Linked DNA regions of Homo sapiens: all the other regions are linked to region 1. The links are contacts of gene promoters, found by promoter capture Hi-C in blood cells and fetal thymus (Javierre and others, 2016). All regions are on one chromosome and are shown on one strand. The core of a region is centred on a gene start or on the middle of the fragment in contact, and the rest is flanking DNA. Distances in the headings are between cores, read along the strand shown.

Region 1 (3,973 bases), core at 556-3,055:
AGAGGAGAGAGAGTCGTTATTTTTGAAGATCTGTGTGAAGAAGCAGCAAAGGTGACATACTGAAAAGGTCTGTGTCCTGGCTCTAGAAAAAACAAAGTTGGCCACTTTTCTTTATGCAGCGAAGATATCATAGCTCTAGATGAAAGGCTTTTCTTCAAGATGTTCCCCCCACCACTGCTGTTTCGAAGTAGGTTCAATGACTGAGATTCCATTGCTCCATAGACCAAAAACTAAAACGAGCGCTGCCACACAGCTAAGCGATGTGTGCATAGAGATTCTCTGTATTTCCATCAGTTGGGAAACTTCCTTAGTGCTGGGCTCCTATCAAAATATGCTGGGCTAAATCTGCTTTCACAAAATAGCCAGGAAAGGTGTTTTGATCACTTCCTGAGCAAGGATTAGTACAGGATAATTCACTTTTCATGGCCGGAGTGTGGTTCTCAATTTCAAAGACACTGAAGCTAATTTAATTTCCCATATTGAAAGAAAATTGCCTTGGATAAAAAGTTTTGTTTTTGTTTTTATTTAAATCAGGTTATCTTTAAATAGACTCATGACAGTCCCCAAGCACCTCTTTCCAAATCTGATTTGTGAACAACACAAAAGTAATGCTGTGTTTATAAAAATTGTTTTGGAGCTGAATTTACAGAGAAAATCTTGTTGAAGGTGCAGACACGGAAAGACAGTGTTTGGAGGTACCTCCCACTGCCATGCCAGGTGTCCAGAGGTGTCAAGCTGCCAGTGTTGATTCAAATGAAAATGATAATGTTGAAGAAGGAGGCTGCAAAAGTTCCTAAGCAACCTGACGGGATATACCTTGTAAAATGCTTTCAAAAAAGCTTCAAAGGGCAGCTAATAAATGAATATACTGACAGGGTTTAATCGCTTCTCCTCTCTCCTAGTAACAGGAATTAAAGGCCACAGGTGGTTCTGGGTTGGAGGCAGGACCCAAAAGTAAATGCAGCATTCAGAGCTGCACAGGCCCAGTCAGAGCAGCTGCCACTTCAGGCACTTACAGTGGTCACCCAGGATTCAGGAGATGCATATTATAAGTAACTCAGTTCTGTAAGAGCTAGGAGTTAGTTCACACTGCTTGGGCTCTCACTAAGTAAGCCTGTGCAATGCAGGCAGGAAGGGAGAAAATGCTTACAAAAAAGAAATGAGTAGATTCTTGCCTTAGGAAAGTCAACGGGATACAATTCCTGATGGAAGAGCAGTTGCTATTCTAAGAGCTAATTAACAAGAAACAATGCTGCAAAAAACTTGGGAGACAGGACGGCAGAACACACCCAGATGGCCTGTGGGAAATTCCCAGGCCTGCCAATGATGTGAGAGAGGACATCTTGTGAATGGGTGGGTACAGCCTGTTCTTCTGGGCAAGACAAACAGTGCAGGACTCTATATGCCAGGGTGGCTGAAGCCCCAGTGTCCAAGAGGCTTGCCCATTCCTCCCTGCCCCTGGCACTGAACCCAAGCTTCCATGGGGCACTGTGGAAGAGGCCTTGCCTGACGACAAGTAGACCAAACACGACCGTCCGTCCTCTAAAAACTGCACCCTTGGAATTGGGGACAGGCAGAATAACCCTTTCACTAGCTTGATACTTAGCCTCTTGGGGTTCTGATAAATCCTTTTGAATAACCAAGCAGTTTTGTTTTTAATACCTTGGCCTGAGCCCTTTAGATGCAGCCATCCTCAACTTACAAAAAAAACAAACCAAAAGAAAAAACAAAACACACACACACACAAACAAACTTTGATTCAATTGACAAAGGTTTTCAAGGTGTCTACTACATGTAAGGCAGCACACTAGGGGTTTCTTGGGGATACGCAGATGACAAAGACAGTGTCTCTTCATCCAGGAGCTAATCAAGAGAAGGGGGAAGAATCAAGCAAACTTCATAATACACAGCCGGATGAAATGAAAAGAGACTTAGATCAAGTGCTGTGAGAGCTTGGAAGAGGCACGGGGCAAATAACACTGGGGCTGGTGGTGGGAAGGCAAGTGACAGCCTCGTGGAAGAGGTGGCATTTGACCAGAGATGAGGACGAACAGAATTAACATAGTAGGCATGAAGGAAGAAAATGCGCCTGAGGACACAGCCAGCACAAATGCAGAGGCATACAAGTGCCTGGTACAGCTGGCATGCAGGGATGGCTGAGGAACTGCGGGGGCAGCCGGTGGGATCCATCCGAGGTGAGTGATGAGAGCTGCACGGCAATTTAGGGGATGACACTAGCCACAGCGTGATGAATAAATCTTAAATGCAGAGGTAGCGCCTGGTGGTGAGCAGTTAGAGGCTGAGACAATAGCTGAGAACACATGACAAGTTCAGCAACTAGGAGAGTTTCTAGTTAATTGGAAGGAAGAGTTGGAAGCACATTCTAGAGGGCCGTGGAAGAATAAACACAATCCACTAACTGCCGGGAATGGGAGTGAAGAGTCCAAGATCACAGGGTCCTCCCTGGCTGCCTGATGGGGCAGTGGTGTTGAGTAACAGAAATGGAACAAAAGAGGGGCAAGAGATTATTCTTTGTAGCATGAGTATTAGTAGCAGTGTTAGTAGTAGTAGTATTTTTGTTAGTGGAACAAAGACAAAAATAGCTCACACTTACTGAGATCCTACAGTCTGCCAAATCTGGGAGGCTGATGGGCTCCGCTTTGCATTGGAGGTGTGTGGGCACCCACATGCAGATGAATTCTAGGGTAAATCTGGGGTGCAGGCCAGGGCTGGCCATCTAACGCTCAGAGACATTGAAATTTGAGTAACCACTGAAGCTGGGAGGGCAGGTTAGATTGTGGAAAGTGACAGAGACAGACTAGAACTGATACCAGCCCTAGGTCTCAGACACATTTTATTTGGCCTACCTAGTGTGTTTTGAAATAATTTTAATTACTTCTCAAATATTTAAACGCTAGGAAATGTCACATCACATGAAAAGTCAGGTTTTCCAACTTCTCGTGGAAAATGAGATACTCGGGAACACTGGGCCTGCACTCCTCTCATAGAAACGGCCTGGAGTTGAGCAGGGGCTTCTGCTTTTCATGGGGCACCAGATGCCCAGTCAGTCACATGCCCCACCACTCCCTATCACCTCCCACCTGGCTGGTATCACTCACGGACTTTCATGGCTCCTGACCCCTGGTGTAGGGTGAGAAGCAGCCAGAGTGGCAGCTGGAGGATGCCATGAAGAGGCCAGAGGAGGATGAATACCATGAAACAGAAACCAGGACCGGGAGAAGGAGGGTCCGGGGTGATACTAAGGGGGTAGAAGCTTTGTGTGTTGTGGTGGTGGTGGGGTGGCCCTTCTACCACTACCCCCGTCCAGTGATGTGGAGATGAGGAGTTAAGGGAACATTTAACATTAGTCCCAGGCCTGAAATCTTTCACAGTTCACGTTGGTGCAGATGGTGTGGAGTTGGAGGTGGATAGCTTGCCATCCTAGGCTGGGCACAGGCCTTTCCCTAAACTCTCTGTTCCTACTGCTGTGAATGGTGACAGCATAATCCTTTTGCAGAAAACTTTCATTATTTGCTTATGTCCCTAATGGGACCCAAATGCCAGTAAGTTAACAATTGTGCTCCTCGGGGCCATCACTTTCATCCACATTTAAGGTCACACTGAAAAGTTGCCTCACCTCAGCTGACTTTCTCCCTGACTGTGATCCAAGAGGGAAAGTCGGCCAAAGAGGAAAATAATGTGACTTCATGAAATATTCTGCACACATTTACTAAAGGAAGCAGAATGTTTTCTAGGGCCAAGAAAAGCACTTTATAAGCTGCACAGAGTGAGTGAGGGGACCAGGGTGGAAAATCTGGATTCTACCCCAAGTGTAAGTCTCAAACTGACTGGAGAGCAGGGGAAAGAGAAGGGTCAAGAACTCAGGGACTCATTTTATGTTCCCCTTCCTGCTGTGGCCCTCATTACAGTGGAACTGAACTAGAGGATACTCAAGGAATCAGAGGCACACCTG
Region 2 (3,973 bases), core at 423-2,922, 550 kb before region 1:
CAGCTCCCTTGCAATCTCAGGTTACTCTTCAAGCAAACAGAGACAGCAGAAGAAGCTTCACCCCATACCCTGAACTAAAACTCAATGATCTATTGGCACAAATTAACTCATCAGTGGTCTTAATTGTGGTATAATATTTTCCATACGGACACTTCACTGTGTATGTGTGTTTTTAAAATTACAATATTTAAATCCAAATCAGACCATTGAGAAACCCAAAACTCCCACTCACAATGTCCTAGGGGTTAGTGGAATCTGTTTTTGAAACCCTGAAACCCTTGCCAGGACACTTAGTGTCAGTAGACAGCAACACAGGTAACCAAGGTGGACACAGCACACAAATGCAGGTTAGCAAACCTAGGATTCCAGCAAAGTGTGCCATCTGCAGATCTGCTGGCCTTTGGTTTCCTTCATCTCCTCCCAGTGATCTTGTTCCTCCTCTCCACTGCTGTTCTGGCCCAGGGCAATCCAGCCAATCATCTCTTTACGCTTCATAGTACGCCTGTTATAAACGGAAATCATCAACGTGACATCAGACAGCTGAAAGAGGGCCACCTGGAAAACAAAGGTCTCCTTATAGACAGGATTGGGCTGACCACGCCGAATGGACGTCTTGCAACGGGACATCTCTTGACCCACAGAATTGAGGAGAAAGAGTTTTCCATATGTATCTAAGACAAAAAAAAAAGGGTGGGGTGGGGATGATAAGAAACATTAGTGCTCTCTGTTTGGCTAGACTAGCTGTAACATTTATATGGGCTACAAATTTCTCCTTTCAACATACTGATCAGTATCCTTAAGCCTGGTTCTTGCTGTTGGGCAACACATCTTGCATGAATTATTAAGGAAGGGAATTATTACCTTGAATACCTAATGTTTCATGTGGCTCACTATCCAGCACACATTGCTGATGTTCATTAGTACTTCTACATGCACAGGGTGTATACATTCGTGCACAGGCATACGTGCAATGGTGCTTGTGGGCAGGCACAGTTCTTCATCTACATTTATTTATGTAACAAGATAAATATACACATTTTGCTCTACATGATTTTTTCATAGTCAAATTGCTATTTTATGCCTGAATTGGAGAATTCTTTTCTCACTCTCTACATATTCATATGTCTGTGTATGTGTGTGTGCATGTGTGTGTGAGTGAGAGAGAGACAGACAGACAGACAGACAGACACACAAGGTCTTGCTCCGTTGCCCAGGCTGGGGTGCAGTGGCATGATCACAGCTCACTAAAGCCTTGACTTCTGGGCCCAAAGCGATCCTACCCCATCAGCCTCCTGAGTAGCTGGAACCACAGGCATGCACCATCATGCCCAGCTAATTTTTTAACTTTTTGTAGAAATAGGGTCTCCCTATGTTGCCCAGGCATCTACATATCCTTTGGACCATCTCATCCACTCCCATAGTTTCAATGACATCTACCAAGTCCACAGGTCTGGCCTCAACTTCTCTCCCAAACTCGAGATCCAGCTGAATACTACACTTCTTCTCTTGAAATCTTACACTAATCTTACATTCAATATGCCCCCAACTCTAAACATTTGCTGTTCCAGTGTTCCCTATCCCTGTGAATAGCAGCATCATTCACCAAATTATCCAAGTCAGAAATCAGGACCTCATTTTTCACAAGACTGACTTCCTCATTCCCAGTCCACCCAATCAGTTGCCACATTCTGTTGATTCTAACTCTCAAACAGCTCCCAAATCTACCCACTTCTTTCCATCCCCAGTGCCTCTGAACTCTGTGTACACTGCAAGCTCAGGGTGCCAGCATTTCTCACCTTTATTACCTCACGTTTCCTCACTGACCTTCTAGTCAGGGGACTGCCAGAGCAATCTCTGTGAAATACAAATCTGGCCATGTCACTCTCACTAATAAACACAAACAAAGTCTTCAATACTTCCCACTAGTCTCAAGATGAGAGCTCAATTTCTTGGTGTAGACTGTCTTCTTTGGCCCTATCTTCTAGTCTCATTGCTTACCACTGCTGCCATTATACACTGCATTCTACTACATTGAACTTCCTCCCCTCCTCCAACCCAATTTGTTCTTTTTCCCTGTCTCATCTGTACATGTTCCCCATGCTCTGACATCCCCACTAATACTCAGCCTCATATGACTTTTGTTCATTAAGTTCAATCTGGATATCACTTTATCTGGGAATATTTGCTGACCTTTCTGACCTTTTTCTCTCACTCCCACCAGTTCAGATAACCCTCTTATAGTCTCCACTAAAACCTAGTTTTAGCCTGTCTCAGCACTTATCACCAGTATTATCGCTGCCTATTTGTCTGCAAAGATGCAGTTTTCCAGTGGTAAAGAGAGGGATTTCCTTATTAACCATTGAACCCCTGATGCTTAGCTCGTGACTACCATGTGCTAGACCTTCAATAAATATTTTGTAATGAATGTTCATGTCTAGTCAGGAAGCTCAACTTTTTCTTTCAGTCTCAAGTTTTCAAACTTGTGCAATAAAGCTAAACCTCCTCATCGTAGAACCCCTCCACTAGAGTGCCAGAAAACAGTGACTAGCGTCAATATAGAAAGGAAAGAAAGCACTCAAATTTTACTAACATGATCTCCTTTTGCTAAAATTCCTGAATGGAACCATCATAAAATAATTATCTCCTCAATCACATTTTTATTAAAATCAATTTATAAATGTCTTGACCTTTATCTGCAACTTTTACTACTAACATGCACACATTATTCTCCTTAAAACTCAAAATGTTAGGGTGTTTCCCAAATTCAATCATTCTGTACATTCTGTTCAATGCAGGCAGCAAGCTGATTAGTGTTTACTGCTCATTTTCCCACCTAACGACCAGTCAAACTTTTTAAAGCGTAAACGCAGATCTCTGTAATTTACTGTTCTCTCCAAAAGCATTGTAAGATAGGAAACAAATTACAACCTGCAGTTTTCTTTCTATGTTGATCTTTTTCTATTTCAGTTTGATGTGTTATTTTATGCACTTATCTGCTGAGAAACACAAGGTGTGAAATTACACTTCAGGTGTGAAAACACTTCTCTGTCTCAGAAACAGGGCTCTCTTCTCTTCAAACTGTTCTACAGAAAAAGCTGTCAGAAAACCAACAATGAGGGAGTGGATTTGTGTTTCTGAAGCTGCATAGCTACATGATTCCTGTAGAAAAAGTTCAGTCCAGTCACCAAACTGATTGGGCAATTGTGCTGCCAGGTATAGCAGTGGGAATTGAGTTAATCTTGCAAACAAAAGCATGCTCATTTCACAAAGAGAGCAATTTCAAGCTTTATCCTGCCATAAGAGTATTTTCTAATTATGAGAAAGGCCACTTACTACCAAATTACTATCACTGAAGTTGGATTGTATGTGTATAACGCAGAGAAATAATAATAATCTTAAAAGCAATCCAGTCTGAAGACACCAGACAAAAGGAAGGAAAATGTTCATTGTTCTAGTTCAAAACGGAAACATCTATTAACAGTAATAATGCACCTACTTCTTAACTTTCAGAGCAGAGGCTGTGCCCAGGAAATTCTGCTTCTGTGGAATAGTTGGGGAGCATGACCAGGGTCTTTTGGGGTTCCGTGACTTACTCTGATGAACACCAGTCAGACTGAATGGAGAAAGACTCTAGCTAAGTAAATATGCCATTTAAATAAGCTGTGTTTTAATCTTTGGAAACTGGTAATAGTGGCTACAAAACAATGCTGAGCAATATTTTCTTTTCTGGTGGTGATTCAGAAAGCTTTATAGTATCTTTAGTAACTCAGAACCATTAGCAAAACACTGAATGGGTCATAATCCCTTGACAGCCCTGTCAACTGTTTTACTAGTCACTTCCCTTTTTCTTGCTAAAGGAAGACGCCACTTGTACTAAAATATTTATAATAGTACATAATCTCCAAATTATTATGGCACAAAAGTATGTCATTTGGAACTCAGAAGGCATTTTTCCAAAGAAACAACATGGTAC
Region 3 (3,973 bases), core at 553-3,052, 540 kb before region 1:
GAGAACAGACTCACACTTACCAGGTGCTCGGTTAACAGCGAGGTTTCGGAAATGGCTGCCTTTGATCATTTCCACAGATAATCGCCCCGTTGTGGCATTGTACGAGAGCCCCACCAACAGCTCTGGCGCCCCTCCATGAGACAGCGACTGCGTGGATGAAGTACTATCACTGTGAGAAACCGCAGATGGGCTGAGCGGAGACCCTCCACTCTGGAGGGGAAGAACAACAAAGAATCCATTGGCCCACGCTGCACTACTCTCTTTTAGAGAAAGCCGATATTATGTTTGGTGAAATTGTGACCCAATCCCCAATGACTGCCAAAGATGACTAAGGGCGCACTCGGCGTGAATTACAATGGGCCCAGGGAGCACAGTCACGGATGAGATCCCTGCATTAGGAACTGACATATTTGTTTCAAGAGCTGTCTCCATTCAATATTTCCTCTCTAAAGGCAAAACGGACAAAGACGTTATTACTAGTGTAAATCAAACCCTCTAAGATACAAGGAGAGTTAATAATACATTCAATATAGACTCAAATTCCCCCCTGTGTAATCTGTGCTTGGATGTTTCTAAGGAACCCCTCCACTCCAGGCCTGAGGTTTGTTTCTGTTCTCTGCAGCTCCTTGATGAATATGGCAATACAGGAGGCGTTGTGTCTTAACTATAAAAGAAATGACCACTGGACGTCTACCCCCACATAGAACATTTGGCTCCTAGTTCTGCTTAAGGTTGTTAAATATATGCCAGGTGCCAAATTTTGCCTTTTAAAGAAATAACTTACATTACAAATGAGCACGTTTACAACTGTTTGAGAAAAAAGACAACACATGGGTTGTGGGTCTCAGCGACCTGGCAGGCACCAAGTGAGCCCAGGAGAACCTGAGCTTTCTGTCATGTTTATTCATGGGCACGCTTCTCCTGAGCACCTACACTTCCCCACCAGGCACGGGCACATCGGGAGGAGGAGCACAAAACTGAGAAGGACACTGATTGTCCCTCAAGGCACGGGAGTAGGAATCGACCCTGTGGGGGCAGGCAATCCTGTCCCCCTGAAACACCATCTCCTCCACCAGAAACAAGGGCATTAGACTTGACTTAAACCTTTCTTCTCAATGTTTGAAATCATTTCTTCAAATTTCTGACCAGAAACTCAATAATTAGAACCAATAAAAGGAATCAAATATTCTGCCCATCTGCAGGAAAGTATCCTGTTTACCAAACCACAGACATTTCTGCAGAGCGCCCCCCACCTAACCTGAGGCTGTATGGAACATAGTTTGTAAACGGCAGGGCTAGGTGGTCGTGATAGATGTCTTACAGACCCTGCTGTCTAGAAGATAAAAATTCAACAATGAAATATTTGCTTACTCTTAAGTGAGACTCACTCCCCCTCCTGTGCTCCTATAAAAGCTTCCCGCTGTGGCACCTGTCACTCACTGCTTGCCTCTCCCATCAAATTCTGAATCCGTATAAATCTCTCAGTCCCTGGTGCATAGCCTAATGTCTGGCACATAACTGTGCTCAACAAATAACTGGTGAATGAAAGACTTCCACCTGCAAAGTTCTTTTACACTAGCTCATTTTCCCCATTCAACTCCGTGCCACCAGCACACAGCATAGGGCCTAGCAAGCATAAATATGGGTGTGATCATCCCCATTCCCAAGCTCTATCACGCAGGATCCCTTCTGATCTCCACTGCATTCTGTTTTCCATCATTTCCGATGTGCTTTACTCAGATATTAAGAAAAAAGGGAGATCTGAGCAGAGCTGAGACATCATCTGGCTTATAACTTTAAAAAGCTCATTCTGGCTCCCATGTCCAGAAGAGTCTGTAGAGGCAAAGGCAGAAGTGGAAAGACCACCGCTGAGCAGCTATTTCAGTAATCCAGCAGAGAGCCAGGTTCTGGTTGTACCTGAAGATAGAGCCAATAGGATTTCAGGTGGAAAACAGAAAAGTCACAGATGACTTCTGAGATTTTTGACCCCAGCAATTGGAAGAATGCAACTGCCTTTAAGCAACATGGAGAAGACTGCAGGGGGAATAGATTTAGGGAGGCAAAAATCAGGATTTCAGGCCTGAAGACGTTAATTTTGAGACATCATTGGACATTTAAGCAGACAGATCTGCCACCACTACAGTCCAGACTTTCTGTCTCCTTTGTTCTTCCTCAGATATGACAAGCTTCCCCACTCCCCCGGCCACCCCACATCCTGACTGCTTGCATGTGCTGTTCACTCTGTCTGGAACTCTCATCCTCCTCACAGCACCAGCCTCGCTCTCTCGATGCTTTGAGTTCCGGCGTTTTATCACCACCTCAAAGAAACTTTCTCTGATCCTCTAAACAAGCGGCAGCCTATCACTCTGTCTCCTTGCCTACTTGGCCACCACTAGACTGCAAGCTCTCCAAGGGCAGAGGCATCGCCTGCTTAGTTCTTTCCTGCATCCACTTTGCCTATACCATAATTGACAGTAAACATCTCTGAATGAATGACTGATTGAATCCAGAGCCTACAGAGCTCCCTGATCTGTTAACGTGGTTTTGTAAAAGGAGATGGGCATACTACATGACATATAACCCACAGCAGTAGTGAGCTGCCCATCCTGTAGGCATGTAAATTATGACACCTTTCCTTGAAACCCTGTGGCAAGCAGGGAAATGGGGTATGAGGGAAGACGGTAGTAACACAAATGAAAGGTTTCAGAAGCAGCTGAAGTTCTGGGCTGCTCTCTCAGTCTGCCCCAGCATACCCGTTAAGAACCTTGCCCAGAAAGTCCCATCTCTGAGATTCATCATGATGCAGATTGGGGGCAGGAGGAGTAGGATCAGTTATCCACAATCCAGAGGGCCAAGCCACCTTCCCTGTTTTTCTCCATGCCCTCTACCACACTGCTGCTATTTTGTCCTAAAATGGACAGGGCATTTATCCATCAGGTTATCAGGAAGACAGGCATGAAAGACCCATTGTACCATGAAGTGCAAATCATGGCTTACAAGGGTGAGGAGAGCCAAATGGAAAATTAAATTAAAGTCTCTGAATTCACAGACTGAACGTACTAAATCAAGGGCTGACAATCCCAGGTCTTCGAACACACCACATCATTAGCAGCACCATTTAACATACTCACGCTTATATTACTTCTTGGCTCCAGAACCAGAGTCACTTTCATTTCCCCTTCTGGGTGCAGGTGGCTGAGATAGAATAGTTTCTCTCCCATCATTCTCTCTCGGGTCATCTTCCGGGCAGCGTACAGGCGGAAGCGGACAGCACAGGCAGCCACATCTCTGGGCTCCAGCTTGGCAAAGGTGACCTTCTCCCTGAAGACGGGGTTGGGCCCTCTCTGTATGTTCGTCCTGCCCCTGTGTTTCTTACCAGGCAGCAGCACTACATGAACTTGCCAGGAGTTGACACCACTTCGGTCCTTATCTGGGAGGCCCTGTGCCCTCACAATGGTCACTGTGAGCTTCTGGCTGGCGGCTCTATATTCAAAGATGACATCTAGGTCACCACACTTTGAGATGGGCTCTGAGACCCCGGATGGCACCTGCAAATTGGTCCTGTCCTGTTCCTGTTGCAGGCAGAGGAAACAATTAGAAATGGAAATGATGATACCCAATTACATTTTGGCCAGTTGGTGCCCCTTTGTGCTCCTTCAGAATCCCTGCTTTCTAACTGCCAGTGTATTCCCTCTATATCAGATAGGTCTGTTTACTGGTCTATCGCTGCATTAAACTGTGAATTCTTTGACGGCAAAGTGCCTAGCATATGGTGCGCCTTCGTGAATGTTTTTGGAATGGATAACTAAAGCTTTTATATTTTTGCAAAGTGTTTTCATATATACTGCCTCTCAAAAAGCACAATTGCCCAGGATCATTGAAACCAACTGAGATGCTAAATCTAAAATTAAGTCAACAGGCAATTGTCCATAGGCAACTTTTCCTTGTGTCCCTAAATACAGATGGTTGAGCC

What was found. Contacts are between HindIII fragments. The CHiCAGO score rates a contact against its expected background, and 5 or more counts as called.
Region 2: a contact is called between a fragment that was not itself captured here and the fragment with the promoter of PRKCH-AS2 in region 1, in 1 of 17 cell types (total B cells). The highest score is 5.5, in total B cells.
Region 3: a fragment that was not itself captured here is called in contact with the fragment with the promoter of PRKCH-AS2 in region 1 in 1 of 17 cell types (total B cells); the score reaches 5.8 in total B cells.

What each region holds. Positions count from the first base shown.
Region 1 is chr14:61,543,316-61,547,288 of GRCh38, reverse strand. It overlaps PRKCH-AS2 (PRKCH antisense RNA 2), which reads left to right and starts at 1,805. Exons shown (of 3, transcript NR_188139.1): 1 at 1,805-2,195. All of the region lies in intron 12 of PRKCH (protein kinase C eta), which reads right to left. The HindIII fragment of the contact is 1,799 bases long and covers 1,478-3,276 here.
Region 2 is chr14:62,097,092-62,101,064 of GRCh38, reverse strand. It overlaps SYT16 (synaptotagmin 16), which reads right to left. Exons shown (of 8, transcript NM_001367656.1): 8 at 1-671. The coding sequence ends at 358. Among named protein-coding and RNA genes, the nearest start is that of LINC00644, 41 kb to the left of the region's middle. The HindIII fragment of the contact is 3,229 bases long and covers 58-3,286 here.
Region 3 is chr14:62,080,433-62,084,405 of GRCh38, reverse strand. SYT16 (synaptotagmin 16) reads right to left here. Exons shown (of 8, transcript NM_001367656.1): 6 at 3,132-3,572; 7 at 21-210. Among named protein-coding and RNA genes, the nearest start is that of LINC00644, 58 kb to the left of the region's middle. RefSeq lists an enhancer at 3,215-3,334. The HindIII fragment of the contact is 773 bases long and covers 1,416-2,188 here.